2 separate regions of the Homo sapiens genome follow, and region 2 is linked to region 1. The links are contacts of gene promoters, found by promoter capture Hi-C in human tissues and cell types (Jung and others, 2019). All regions are on one chromosome and are shown on one strand. Each heading gives the region's core, a stretch centred on a gene start or on the middle of the fragment in contact. The rest is flanking DNA. Distances are from core to core; before and after follow the strand shown. Region 1 holds the start of POLDIP2 (DNA polymerase delta interacting protein 2). Region 2 overlaps LINC01992 (long intergenic non-protein coding RNA 1992).

Region 1 (7,216 bases), core at 4,717-7,216:
GACATGGTTTATATTTAGACTCCCTTCCCCCGGCAGTCACCTTAAGGACACCATACACCTTGGGGCCTACCCCTGCTAGAAGGGGTCCAGGCTGGCCACATACCCTCATGCCCATGTAGAAGGGGATGACAGTGACACGTATGTTCTCAGTTGTTTCCCGATGAACATCGGAGAGCTCCAGCCAGGGGTGATTCTTCTCTTGCCAGGCCCTTAGCGTCTCCCGAGCCACAAAAGGAGGTGCTGGGGCAAGATACAATTGGTTAGTCCAATTGTGTGTTGTGGATACAATTGTATCTAGTCCAATCACACAATAGTCCAGTGCGATTGCCCCTCCTAGAAAACCCTCCCTAGTGGTGGCCCAGGCAAACAAGGTGCTCATACATGAAGCAAAAGTTCAGGCTGGAAGAAGGCACAGGACTGCTACCAAGAATAAGCCCTGAGGAGCTAGTGTGATACAATGGGAAAACAATCGGACTGGCAGTTAAGAGCCCTGGTTTTCAGCCCTCACTCTGCTACTAGCAACCTTGAGTCCCTTGTCATCATCCCTGATCCTCAGTTTCCATATCTGTAAGGAAATAACTGCCATCTGTCATCTGTCAGGTATGACACCTATGAGGCATGACAGCTCTAACAGGAGGTTGAAAAGGGTTGTGGAAATAGAGCGTTGGAATTATTTCTTTTTTTTTTTTTTTTTTGGAGACGGAGTCTTGATCTGTTGCCGGGATGGAGTGCGGTGGCATGATCTCAGCTCACTACAACCTGTGCCTCCCGGGTTCAAGCAATTCTTCAGCCTCAGCCTCCCAAGTAGCTGAGACTACAGGTGCACGCCACCACACCCAGCTAATTTTTATATTTTTAGTAGAAACAGGGTTTCACCACATTGGCCACGATGGTCTTGATCTCTTGACCTAGTGATCTGCCCGTGTCAGCCTCCCAAAGTGCTGGAGTTATAGGCGTGAGCCACAAGCACCCGGGCCTTTTTTTTTTTTTTTCCTGAGATGGAGTCTCGCTCTGTTGCCCAGGCTGGAATGCAATGGTGCAATCTCGGCTCACTGCAACCTCCACCCTCCTGGGTTCAAGTGATTCTCCTGCCTCAGCCTCCCAGGTAGCTGGGATTACAGGCGCCCACCACCACGCCCAGCTAATTTTTGTATTTTTAGTAGAGACAGGGTTTCACCAGGTTGGCCAGGCCAGTCTTGAACTCCTGACCTCAGATGATCCACCTGCCTGGGCCTCCCAAAGTGCTGGGATTACAGGCGTGAGCCACCGTGCCCGGCCCTGGAATTATTTCTATGATATTCTTTGATGAAAAGGCCCTCCCATTCCACCTCCCCTTCTTGAGAGAGATTACCTTTTGTCTGGTCATACAGAAGAAATCTTTCAAAGAGTTCATGTTGGATGGGAACCTGATCAGTGGAGGTGTAGGGGAGGATGTCTTCATGGCTGACATAGTCCAAGCCTGGCACAGAGATGCAAAAGACAGTGGTGAAACTCACAGGAGAGGAGAGAGATGGGGTTGAGAAGAAACATTAACTGGCCTTGTTCCAGTATGGGATAACCCTGATATCATACCTCTCAGCATCATAATCCCTCCCAGTGGATGACAGGACATCAGAATCCTCTCCCTGAGACACACCAGACTCCTTCTTGACGGGCACCATTCAAATGCTAACTACTCACCTGGGATGGCATAGAGGGCCCGACTGTCATCATGGTTAGCCAAGAAGGTCACAGCTTCTGTCTGAGATCTCTGAGACTAAGGCAAGAAGTGAATCAGTGGTGAAACCATGTCTCTGCTAAAAAGTACAAAAATTAGGCTGGTGTGGTGGCAGATGCCTGTAATCCCAGCTACTCGGGTGGCTGAGGCAGGAGAATCACTTGAACCCGGGAGGCAGAGGTTGCAGTGAGCTGAGATCTCACCACTGCACTCCAGCCTGGCGACAGAGTGAGACTCCATATCAAAAAAAAAAAAAAAGACGTGAATCAGGGCTTTGTTGGCCACTGTGCAGTCCAAGGCCTTGGGGACCAAGACTGACCTGGGCTCTGTTTGACCCCCTTCCCTCCCTTTGTCCCCATTGGGATGCAGGACTTTCCATGGAGAGGACCCCCAAGCCCAGCCATCTTGCTTACTTACTATATGTGGGCAGTCACGAGCATCAATCAGCACCTGATAGTAAGTGTGAGTTTTGCCTTTCACCTCCTTGGAGCCATGGCCAGCAGGGTTCTCTGCTCTATGGGGTGGGAGAAGGAGGCCAAGATCACCCCAGGAGAAATGGAAGCTGTGGCTGACTCAGCTCCCTACTCCTCCTCACCTAAACAGGCTGGTCTCTGATCTAAAGGGGCTTTAGCACCAGCTGGACACCTGCTCTGCAGCACCTCAGCTCAGCTGCTCCTCAGTTGGGGCAAATAATAGAGCATGGAAGACCATGGTATGGAGCCATCATCTGACCGTGTGGATACCTCTTAAAAGAAGGGGGCCATGTTGAGAAAATCAAATTGCCACCTCAGTCCCCAGGGCCCAGAGTACTCTTGTCTTCTTATATCCCAGGGACTGTCTGTGATCACTTAATGGGGCTGAACCTTTTCTGTTTTAATGTATTCTAGGGATGATGTGAGATTGAGGGAAAGACTCCAGCTGAACATCAAGAAATCAAGAAGACTTGTCCCCCAAATGCCCTCTGGGATACTCATAATGAAAATTAGGAATGGCTTAGGAAAGCATTCTGAGGAGGCCTAAAGGGACTCTCTGACTTAGACTATCCCTGGCACTCAGCACTTTTGTCTCCATGGGTCTTAGTCCCAGAGAAGTACTCTGGGGATGTTTCCAAGGCCTAGGAGGACGCTGTCTTCACCCCTAGTACCCCAATTACATATGTCTGCCATCTCCTCCTGAGGATACTGTGAGGCACAACCACAGGGAAACTTACTTTTCTGGAGCTGCAGAAGCCACATCCCGGTCATACAGTCTGGCCTGCCAGGGAAACAGGACGACACCTCGGTAGCCAAAAATGCTATGAAGGAAAAGCTGGAAGGAAAGAGGGGCCTCAGTGAGTCTGCAGTCCAGCAAATCCATCCAGGTGGGCCCCAGACCACAAAGCAACACAGGTGGAGGCAACTCCAGCACAAGGTCTTGCTACCTCTTCCCTTGAAGTCTGTGATCAACCAGACCAATGCTGGAACACTCTTATTTCTTCTTTACCTGGCTGACTCTACTCATCCTTTAGGTAAAAGCTTAGGCCTCCAGGAAGCCTTCCCTGACCTCCCTTCCACTTAGCACAATGTACAGCTATTGGCCATTTGCAAATCGTTCTTTTCTAGACTAGAAACTCCACAATAGCAGGAATCATGTCTACTTTGCTTTCTGATTTAACCCTAATGCACAATGCCTAGTCCATTGTAGGCACACAGAAAAATAAAATGTTGAACAAACAAAAAGTCTTCCTTACCTACAATATCCTAGAAGGGCCTAAATCTATCCCAGTGGACCCAGAACAAAGCTGATATAGAAAAAGAACCACACATCCAGAGTTTACCACACTGAAGTCAATTTTATTACGGCAAAGCATCAAAGGTATACTTTTCTGAAAGCTCCCTCCACGGCTTCCCACCATCCACTATGTTAGAGAAATCTTCAGCAACTTGGCTAAACCTCACTATAGTCCACACCATCCCTGTCCACATTAACTTGGAAAGAGAACCCACTGACACATTAAGTGCATTCAAATCCAGGAGAACAGAAACCCTATCTATAAAAATTTGATTCTGGGCTGGGTGCGGTGGCTCACGCCAGTAATCCCAGGACTTTGGGAGGCCAAGGCAGGTGGATCACCTGAGGTCGGGAGCTCGAGACCAGCCTGACCAACATGGAGAAACCGCATCTCCACTAAAAGTACAAAATTAGCCAAGTGTGGTGGCGCATGCTTGTAATCCCAGCTACTAGGGAGGCTGAGGTAGGAGAACTGCTTAAACCCAGGAGGTGGAGCTTGCAGTGAGCCGAGACCATGCCATTGCACTCCAGCCTGGGCAACAAGACTGAAACTCCGTCTCACAAAAAATAAATAAATAAAATAAATAAATAAAATAAAAAATGAATACAAATTTGATTCTGGAATGGCACCAAACATCAAGGTGGAATGAATGGAACACCATACCATGCAGGCCTGTGACCTAATCTGACTTTTTTCAGAAGCAGAGCACTCTATGAAAATGAAAGATGACCCAGCCCAATACTCACCTGCCCGGTCTCATATTTTCCATTCTGTTTTGGCACCTCAAACACACCAACTGTCTCCAACACTTTGCCCTCTGGTCGGTTTCTGAGTAGGAAGGAAAAGAACAAGCAACAGAAAAGCTGAGAAGGTAATGGTAGTTATCCATAAGAAAAAGCTCCTAGGATACTGAGGGGCCAGGGCGATGACAGCAGAGAAGGGTTTGGGGTAGTGGGACCAGCTGGAGCAGGAAAGGCTTTCCTCCTCCTTGGTGAAAACCTCCACAGTCTCCCAGTGTTAGATGTGACCGCTCCCATACTACTGTCTTCTCTCTTCACTGGGCATTCTTCATATCATGCCCTCACACTCTGCTCAAATGTACCCCTGCCCTTGTTTCTTCCCTAACCCACCCTCCTGACCTCCCACAGCACTTTAACTGTCTTGCTCACTTTTTCAATTTTTTTAGAAGGGGAGTATCTTTTTTTCTTCTTTTCTTACATTTTCTATATCACAAGTCATCAAACAATATCCTGCTCCCTTTACATTTCAGTTGTGTCCATGTCTTATCTTTATTAAATACTGTAAATTCCCTGGGAGCAATGCCTGAGTCTGATTAGCTGGTACTGCCCCCTCAGAGCCTAGTGTACAAGAGGTGCTCAAAAAATATTTGTCCTGTATTATAATTCCATGTCCATCTCCCCCTCTAACCTGTAGCCCTTACATTGCCCTTGAAAAGCTTAAACATCTCTAGATTTCCTACGGCACATCGCTCTCTCAATACCGTTTTTGTTCATATTCTCACAGGGGTCTTAAATTGCAAATAGCTATCATCTCTCCCCAATGTTCAGTGTCTAATATCAGCCACTAAAATGTCAGTCACCACTCTGAACAGGGCTGCTCTTTCTAGGGGCCCTTCAAATAAAGGCTGTTTTTACTGTTTTGAAGATGTGAACTTTATGCTTCCTCCCACTGATCCACCAGCCCATTTGATCCGCCTGTCCCATCCGTGGAAACAGTTTCCACACCATCCCCATGGCCTCAAACCCCCTTCCCCAAGTCACAGATAGAAAATCGATCTCCCCAAAGTCACTTGGAAACCTGGGGCCTACGAGGGTCCACACCCAAGAGTCTCGTTTCCCACCTCTAGCATCTTTCTGAGGCAGACCTTCACCAAATCCAAAGGCTGAGGGTTCAAGCCAATGCCCTAGGGCTGAATTAAAAAGCTTCCCTCTGACATCGGTGCTGGGGACCCCAGCCGGGGAAGTAGGATTCACTTGGGGAGGGTAACCTGTTCCCCCCCAGGGCCAGCCCTGTACAACCAGGGCTCTGGGCCGCGCTGGCTTCCCTGCTCCTGGCACATGTCCCAGACAGCGCAGGTCGGCTCCCTGCTCGGGACCCTCTCCCGGGTCAAACTCCAGTCACCCTCAGCAGGCCCGGGCCCCTGGCCTCCGCACTGGCTAGGAACACGCTCTCTGGGCTCCAGGCCCAGTTCCTCGCGCCCCCTGGCTCCGTCCCTCACCGGGACGAGAGGTGCCTCCGCGTCGTCGTGGTCGACGCTGGCGAGAAGGCTCCAGCTCCGGCCGCCGCACAGAGCGGCCTTGGCCACCGGGCCCCAGTCAGCGACCGGGACCACCAGCGGCTGCCCACGGCCAGGGCCCGCCGGGCTGTACAGGCTGCCATGTCCCGCCCGAGCGCCCGCCCGGCTGCTGACACAGAGCCCGACCCGCGGCCGGGCGGCGTTCCGCCCCAGTCCCACACTGCCCCGCGCGGCGTCCCGGCCCTCTTGGCCCGCCTGGTCCCACCCCGGAGCTCAGAGCAACTTCCGGTGCGCTTAGCGTTACTTCCGGCGCGCGGCGGGCGGAAGTCCGGGTTGGGGTCACCTGACCGGAGAGCCGGCTAGATATGGCGTCCTCTTTGCTTGCGGGCGAGCGATTGGTGCGTGCTTTGGGCCCCGGCGGGGAGCTGGAGCCAGAGCGGCTACCCCGAAAGCTGCGGGCCGAGCTTGAGGCCGCGCTGGGGAAGAAGCACAAGGGCGGTGATAGCTCCAGTGGCCCCCAACGCTTGGTTTCTTTCCGTCTCATCCGGGATCTGCACCAGCATCTGAGAGAAAGGGGTGAGCCCCAGTCTCCAGTCCGGGGTCCCCTCCTTGTGTCCAGATCGATTCCCTCCTGAGGTCTTTTCCCATCATTCCCCTTCTTCTACGGAGCACTCATCTAGACAAGTCAAGAGTCACTCCATAAATCCCAGGGCCACCCACTTTCTTAACTCCCATGGGAATTTCTCGTGGATGACAAATTTGCTTGTGCAGTTTCTGCTCTTTTGAGAGCCCCCTCTTCACTTCCAGGCACACCTAGGCCCAATTCACCCTTGAGAAAGTCTAGGTTTTTACCAAATACAAATATCACAGGTTTTGTCTCTTCTTTTTCTCCACTTTAGGAATCAGCTTAGCATAGTGAGCTTGTAGGAATCCGGATTTCTTTCCACCTCAAAAGCAAGAGTGGTGAAATCTGATACTTTGTTTTGTTTGTTTGTTTTTTTAATATAGGATGGCAAAAGCTGTGTTGAAAGATCTGGCCTGAGAGTAGCATGTGAGTTCCAGTCCTAGCTCTGTCACTAATCCTTTGAAGGAGTCATTTCTCCTCGCTGGGCCTCAGTTCCCTTATGTGTAAAGGGAAGGAACAGGACAAACTAGCACATAAGGTATTTTGCCAGAAGTAACATAGACCAGCCAGAAGTGCAAAGGGTAGACTGCTCAATTATTAGAACTAGAAAGGACCTTAGAAAGAGATTGCCTAGTATTAGTGTCCTCTGAGCATTTAGCATCACTATGACCTAAACTTATTTAGGGAAGAGCTGTTGTGGCCACAGAACTGATCTAACCCAAAGGCACAAGTAAATGGCTTACTTGTTAGTTATAACACTGGCAGGATAATTGAGAGCTGACAGCTAAAGTCACCTGCGCAGCACTGGGAGATACCTACATGGAATTATCCAAAATTCTTTTCAAT
Region 2 (7,216 bases), core at 2,297-4,796, 410 kb before region 1:
GCTATGGTTTTTTGGTTTTGTTTTTGTTTTTTTTGAGGGGTTGGGGTGTCCTTTTGGAAGTGGAGCCAGAGAAGAGGTAAAATTAAGGAAAGTAAAAATAGGGCAGACTCATAGCTTTTTCATATGAAAATGAAGGAGGCAGTAGCTACAAGATAGTTTACTGATGCTCTGTCTGCAAGGAAAAAATGGGCTGGTTTGAAAAGCAAAACAAAACTGACCAACAGGTGACTGGGAGGGATGGGGAAAGGGGTGTGATCTGTCTTTCCTGTCTGCCTCCTCTCTGCTTTTTTCATGTATACACGTAAGGGAAAGATGTAATAGTCTCTGTTTTCTATGTACAGGGATATTTAGATATGCAAATGAGCACAGCCTGTTAATGAGCTGAGGGTGATTACACTGCAGGGAGCTGCCAGCCCCTGCTGAACAATAGGTGAAGAGACACCAGGTGTCTGTGAAGGGGGAAGGGGACCTCCCCACCCCTGCCTCTGTGCCTCTGACCTGTCTGCAGAATGAAACTGTTAGGCCAAGTTCTTATGCTCCTTCTAGCTCCCAGATCCTGAATCTAATGAGTTAAGGTGAGCAGCGGGAGACCAGGTAAGCCCTGGGGCTCATCAGGGAACTGATGAGCAGGTAAGCTCCGGAGGCTCCCGAACCTTACCTGGGCCGGGAAGGGTGATGGGCAGCCAGTGAAGCATGAAGCTGCCTCAGATGGGCAGGACCACTTGGCAAGTGCTATGGAATTGGGGTGGGAGAAGCAGGACCCTATGGAGTGAGCAGGTCATGCTGCGTCTCTTTGGGCAGCATTTGGTCACAAGATGGTGACTGGGCACCTGTGTGCTTATCAGAAGTCACGGCAAAGTTTTGCAATGAGAAACAGGAAATGAAGGAGTCCGCTTTTAATTTCTAGGGAGAGATGCTCAGTATTAGTAAAAAGGACGTGGACTTTGGAGTTGTACACATCTGAGTTTGTTGGGCTAGACACATTGGACATGTTATACCCATGAACCCTGGCTGACAAGGTGCCAGCCACACAGCCAATCTCCCCTACTGATAAGATAAAGGACTTGGCCTATCACATATGACTCTCCTGACAACCACTTGATGGTTACCTAGCGAAGGAGGTAATTAACAAAGAATCTTACAAGAAACTCGTGTTGCTCGGGCAAATGCCCGGCCTGGACATCCCAGGTCCAGAGGAGTGGAAAGAACCCAGCCAGTTCCAACGGGATCTGCAACGTACTTTCTGACCTGTTGTTCTGACGGCAACAGAGCAGGACACTGTCATCGCCTGCCAGCCTCCAAGTCTCTGTGACACTGTCTCAAAACAGTCTAAAGCTTTAAGTCCCCTCAAACCTCCCACATCTGCCATGTGGCTGGATCACTCCAAAATCAGGACATGTCCCTAACCTTCTATTAAGGGCATTCGACTTTATACCATGTCACTGAGCATCACTCAATCCTGCCTATAAATATGGATGCTATGCTAACAAGACTTATTGCTGATTTAATGGCAGTGAGTACAGGCTGGTGTGCTGCACACATACACAGAGAATGGTATTGAAAAATGGGAATGATAATTAGAGTTTAATAAATGGTAATTTGCTCCTTGCTGCTGTGTGTGACAGGGGTTGGGGAGGGATGAAATAGAGGGGCCCTTCCAGAAAGTGAAATGTGGATAGAACGTATGCCATGACAGCTTTATTTTAATTTTCACATTGCCCAGGATTGAAGTTAATGCTCATTTACCTACAGATCCTTTTCCCTGGAAATCACCTCTTGTGGAACATGAGTGGAGAAGACAATTAGACAAGAAATATTTATCACTGGGACCAAATTTTAACTAGAGTCATAGAATGAAGAGGTCAGGGCTCCAGAGACAAAGTGAAGCAGAGAATTAAAATAATTATCTGGATCATTCAGGGGAAATAAAATCATTGTTTTTGCTTGAGTGAGTGTCTGAATGATCTAAATAATTGTCCCCACCCTTTGTTTTGGTCTGGTAGTGAAGACCTGGCCAATCGATCCAGTAGCAAAGGATGGAAGTTGGAAGTTTGTGGCGAGAAAGGACAGGAAGGCTGAGTAAGCCTGAATCCCCCTGGTCCTGCAGGCCTGAGCATTGGGCAGAGGCTGGCCCAGTCCAGAGCTTGGGCTGGAGAGGGAAGGATGGTATTCCTGGAAGCTAGAGACCAGAAAGTAAGCAACGCTGAAAGTCGCATGGGAAACCAAGGTCGACAAACCCAGAATACAGCCAGAAGGAGCCAGGTTTAGTGAGTGAATCCAGGAAGCTAAAAGATTAAGCAGAACAGAATCATGAGGGGTGTGTGTGTGTGTGTTTGTGTGTGTAGTTAGGAAAGGTTAAACAATTGACTATACCAGAGGTTTGCAGCTTCTTGGACTCCACTGGCCAATCAAGAGAAGTGGAATTTTTCTGGGGCAGTGGCGGTATGCTAGTGTGCAAATGGAAGGTATGGTGTTATTCAGCGGGCCCTGCAAGTCTCCCCTTCCCAGAAACAACTACTTTATTTCTAGATATAGAATAATAATAATAGTAAAAAGACAGCTACTTTATGTAAATGCATGAATGATCCATTGCTTGAGATTTATTCGTGGCCTACTTGTGTGTTCATTTTTCAAACACAAATTTTCCTTGGAGGACAAATCAGTAGTTTCCAAGCTTACTATAGAAATTAACAATAACTAATTGTGGTAGATTTTAAATTCCACAGTTATTCAATATTGTTCCTTTTAAGAGACAGAACTTAATTCCCATCTCCTTGAGCATGGCTTGGACTGGGTGACTCATGACCGATAAAATATAGCAGAAGTTATGGTGTGTGATTTCCAAGTCTGGGTTATAAAGTGTTTTGTAGATTCCTCCTAGTTCCCTCTTTTGGATTGTTTGCTAAGGTAGAAGCCACCTGCCACATCACTAGGACACACAAGCAGCCAATGCAGATGTCCATGGAGTAAGGAACTGAGGCCTCCTGCCAATAGCTGCGTGAGTGTGCCACCTTGGAAGCAGACTGTCCAGCCCCAGTCAAACCTTCAAATGACTGCGGCCCCAGCTGACATTTCACTGCATCTTCGTGAAAGGCCATCAACCAGAACCACCCATCTAAGCCATTCCTAATTTCTAGTCCTCGGAAACTGAGTTATCTAATAAATGTTTGTTATTTTAAGCTGCTAAATTTTGGGATGGTTTGTTACTCATCAATAAATATTACAATAATCATAGCTAAGATTTACTGAACATGTACATGTGGCAGGCTTCACATATATTAACATATTTAAATGGCTTAACAATCATATGAGATAGTTACTATTACCAGCTCCATTTTGTAGTTGAGGAAACTGAAGTATACAAAGTTATACATAGTGAATACTGTTAGTTCCCTTTCCTGGCTGTAAATGTTGGCTGCTAAAGACTCACAGCTTCCCCTCTTTCCAGAGAATTGCCCCTGGCTGGATAGGAGTGGTCTCACCTAGGAAGTTATACACTGCCTTCCCCTCCCACTATGGCAGCCCTCAGCCACTGACTAGTTGATGCAGGGCAGGACCACCACAAAGTGGGACCAACTGTATGGTGCAATTCTCCCTCCAAATTTTTTTGCGGTGGAGTCAAGCAAAAGCTAGACTCTAGCTGGGATTACATTCTTGCTTAGATCCATTTGCTACCTCTATCCTGCTTTCCTTGCCCCTTTTCTCCCAAAAGCACTCCCTCAATAAATCAAGTGCGTTGGAATCTTGTCTCAGGCTCTTTTTAAGGAACTCAACCTAAGTTAGGCATAGTGATTTACCCAAAGTCATTGCTATGGTTTAAATATTTGTCCCCTCCCAAACTCATGTTGCCATTTAATTGCCATTGTGATGGCATTAAGAGGTGAGACCACTAAGAGGTGATTAGGCCATGAGCACTCCGCTCTCAAGAATGGATTAATGCCATTATCAAAGGAGTGGGTTCTTATAAAAGGTCCAGTTTTCCCCTTTTTTCTCTCTCTTATCCTCTTGCCTTCCTCCATGGGATGATACAGCAAGAGGATCCTCACAAGATGCTGGCACCTTGATCTTGGACTTCCCAGCCTCTAGAACTGTGAGAAATAAATTTCCATTCTTTATAAATTAGTCCATCCCAAATATTCTGTTGTAGCACCAAAATGGACTAAGACAGCCAAACAGCCTGGGTTTGCACGCGACAGTCTGACTTCAGAGTTCTTGCCCTTAAAAATATCTCTGGAAGAGTAACAAATACCAGTAGAGAGCAGTAGCACAATCATAGTTCACTGCAACCTTGAACTCCTGGGCTCAAGCCATCCTCCTGCCCCAGCCTCCCAAGTAGCTGGGACTACAGGCATGCATCACCACACCTGGCTAATTTGTAATTTTTTTGTGTGGAGATGGGGTCTTGTTACATTGTCCAGGCTGGTCTCGAACTACTGGGAGTTCCTCAAGGATCCTCCCACCACCTTGGCCTCCCAAAGTGCTGGGATTACAGGCATGAGCCATGGTGCCTGGCCACTACTAAATTTTCAGCTCCTATTTTGGCATGAGACAAGTGGTGGGTGGTTCAGTTCGGCTTTTTGTAACTGCTAGTTCTGTCCCCCACCCCGCCCCGCCAACACACACCATGGATAGTACCACGTGAAAGCCAGTCCTCCTGCCCCTCATATTCATCCCTTACCTCCCACCCTAATTAATCTGGTCCAGATCCTCATTCTTGCCATGAATTTTAGCCTCCTCTCTTAGATAGGATTTACATGTTCTTGCCTATAGTGGGTGAAATTGAGTCCTAACCCCTGGTACCTGTGAATGTGATCTTATCTGGAAGTAGAATCTTTGCAGATGTGATTAAGGTAAGGATCTGAAGATGAGATTATCCGGGATTTAGGGTGCGTCTAAATGCAATGACTAGTGTCCTTATAAAAGAAAGGAGAAATTGGAGACAAAGAGACACAGGGGGAAAACCACATGAAGACAGGGTGTAGAGATCAGAGGGATACATCTGCAAGCCACAGCATGCCAGGATTGGATTGCAGAGCCACAGAAGCGAGGAGATACACAGGGAACAGATTCTCCCTCGGAGCCTCCAGAAAGAACCAGCCCTGCTGACACCTTGATTCCAAACTTCTGGCCTTCAGAGCTATGAGACAACACGTTTCCATTATGTCAAGCCTTCCAGTATGTGGTCATTTGTTATGGCGGCCACAGGAAACAAATACACTTCCCTTCAGAGGCCCCTGTTCATCTCAGCCCTAAACCCAGCAGCAGTCTCTGGAGTGAGGTTGGGGAATTACAAAAGCCGTAACAGGCATGCATCACCACACCTGGCTAATTGTTAATTTTGTGTGTGTGGAGATGGGGTCTTGTTACATTGTTTACAAAGCCACAGCCTTGTGGTTGTTATAGTTCCCATTTTGCTTTGTTTTGTTTTGTTTTGTTTCATTTTGTTTTTTACAATCGAGGAAATGGGCCCAGGAAGTTCAAGTGATTTTTTCCAAAGTCCCTTACACCAGCAGTCCCCAACCTGTTTGACACCAGGGACCAGTTTTGTGGAAGACAATTTTTTCATGGACAAGGGGCAGGGGGGAAATGGTTTTGGGCTGAAACTGTTCCACTTCAGATCATCAGACATTAGTTAGATTCTCATAAGGAGCACGCAAACTAGATCCCTCCCATGTGCAGTTCACAGTAGGGTTTCCGCTCCTACGAGACTCTAATGACGCCGCTGCTCTGACAGGAGGCAGAGCTCAGGTGGTCATGCTCGCCTGCCCTCCACTCAGCTCCTGCTCTGCAGCCTGGTTCCTAACAAGCCATGGACTGGTACTGGTCCCTCAGGGGTTGGGGACCCCTGCCCTATATAGATGGTGTATAAAGCCCAGATTGTGGGTCTCTAGACTCCAAATCCTGAAGTTTTTAGTCCTCAAGAGGAGACTGGCAATGATACAAGGACACTACTAAAGTCTTTCTGTTCACTGTCTATAACTCTTCATTTTAAAATCTAGGTATTTGGGGATATGGAGTGTAGGGGGAACAGGAAGGTGGGACCTAGCTTCTTATCCTTCTGCCTTTGACAGCATATAATGTCTCCCATAAAGTGCAGCAGCAAAGTCTAACTTAAGCATTTAAGTGACCCCTTCAGTTCCTTAATGATGCTATAAATGCAATCCTGGTGTGATTTATAAAGCTATTAAAATAAATGCTTCCACTGAAATAAACATTGCTACCTCTCAGCATATGTTTACTTGCATAACCTAAGCACAAACTTACCCGAATATGCAAAACCTGAACCAAAGATGATAAACGGAGGGCCTGGGTGCCGTACACAAATGAACTGGATGTGTGTGGGTCTTGACAGCATCTTCTAGGGACAGCTGGTCTTTCAGACTTTTTTTTTCTTAGTCATGGTCTTTCAGTCTTGAAGCCTTGCCTTGTTTCTCAGTTTGGAGAAATGCCTCCCTCCATGGTCTGACGCCTAGCTGATGCCTCTCTATCCATGAATTTCGCATTATGCACAGAAAAGCACTTTTTAAAATGCTCTCCTCAACCTTTGTGCATGGTTCAGCTCCCATGGAGAGCCCCACTTGAGTCTTTACCATTTTTCATGTCACAGAAATGTTTGTAGGCCCTGGGCCATGGGAGGTTTTGGAGCAAGAGGGGCATGATGAAATTTGCTAATCACATCTTGGAACCATGAGATTTTAGGTCTATATTCAAAGAGGCATGAACCCAGGGCCTGAATTTAATTCATCTTCAACCTCACAGCTCTTTGGACTGTGCTGCATTGGTCATTATGTAAGAAGGAACATTTGAGAAGAAATCGAGTAGGTTTGAGATGATGCCCAGGAGTCATAGGACACAATGGAAAAGCAACAGGGAACAGTTTACACCAGTCTGTCTGGTTCACTATGATATCCTCAGTGCCTACCATGGGTGCCTGGCACATACAGCTTGCTGTAAATAAGTGTAGAAGGAAGTGAGACAGAGAGGGAGGCCCTAGGGAATTCAGTCCAAGTCCTGGTTCCACTACATACTAGCTGTGTGATGATGGGAAAATTTATTAATTTCTCTGAATCTCCACTTCCTCATTTTGAACTGAGGACAATAATATCTTTCTATTGTAAGTCTTACACAATACAACTCATAAAAATGTCTAGAACGGTGCTGCACAGAATAGGTGCTCTATTCCATAAATGTTCATTGAATGAATGAATGAAAGTCT

What was found. Contacts are between HindIII fragments. The study calls those that stand out against the background at their distance.
Region 2: a fragment that was not itself captured here is called in contact with the fragment with the promoter of POLDIP2 in region 1 in 1 of the 25 tissues and cell types used here (dorsolateral prefrontal cortex).

What each region holds. Positions count from the first base shown.
Region 1 is chr17:28,351,561-28,358,776 of GRCh38, forward strand. POLDIP2 (DNA polymerase delta interacting protein 2) reads right to left here and starts at 5,967. Exons shown (of 11, transcript NM_015584.5): 1 at 5,728-5,967; 2 at 4,235-4,316; 3 at 2,928-3,025; 4 at 2,135-2,231; 5 at 1,681-1,756; 6 at 1,352-1,459; 7 at 104-240. The coding sequence starts at 5,888. It overlaps VMA12 (vacuolar ATPase assembly factor VMA12), which reads left to right and starts at 6,087. Exons shown (of 6, transcript NM_152464.3): 1 at 6,087-6,321. The coding sequence starts at 6,111. RefSeq lists enhancers at 5,367-6,132, 6,245-6,344 and a silencer at 5,665-6,054. The HindIII fragment of the contact is 19,434 bases long and covers 5,188-7,216 here.
Region 2 is chr17:27,939,710-27,946,925 of GRCh38, forward strand. The region is part of intron 2 of LINC01992 (long intergenic non-protein coding RNA 1992); the gene reads right to left. Among named protein-coding and RNA genes, the nearest start is that of LINC01992, 48 kb to the right of the region's middle. RefSeq lists enhancers at 5,508-5,567, 5,618-5,677. The HindIII fragment of the contact is 3,084 bases long and covers 2,005-5,088 here.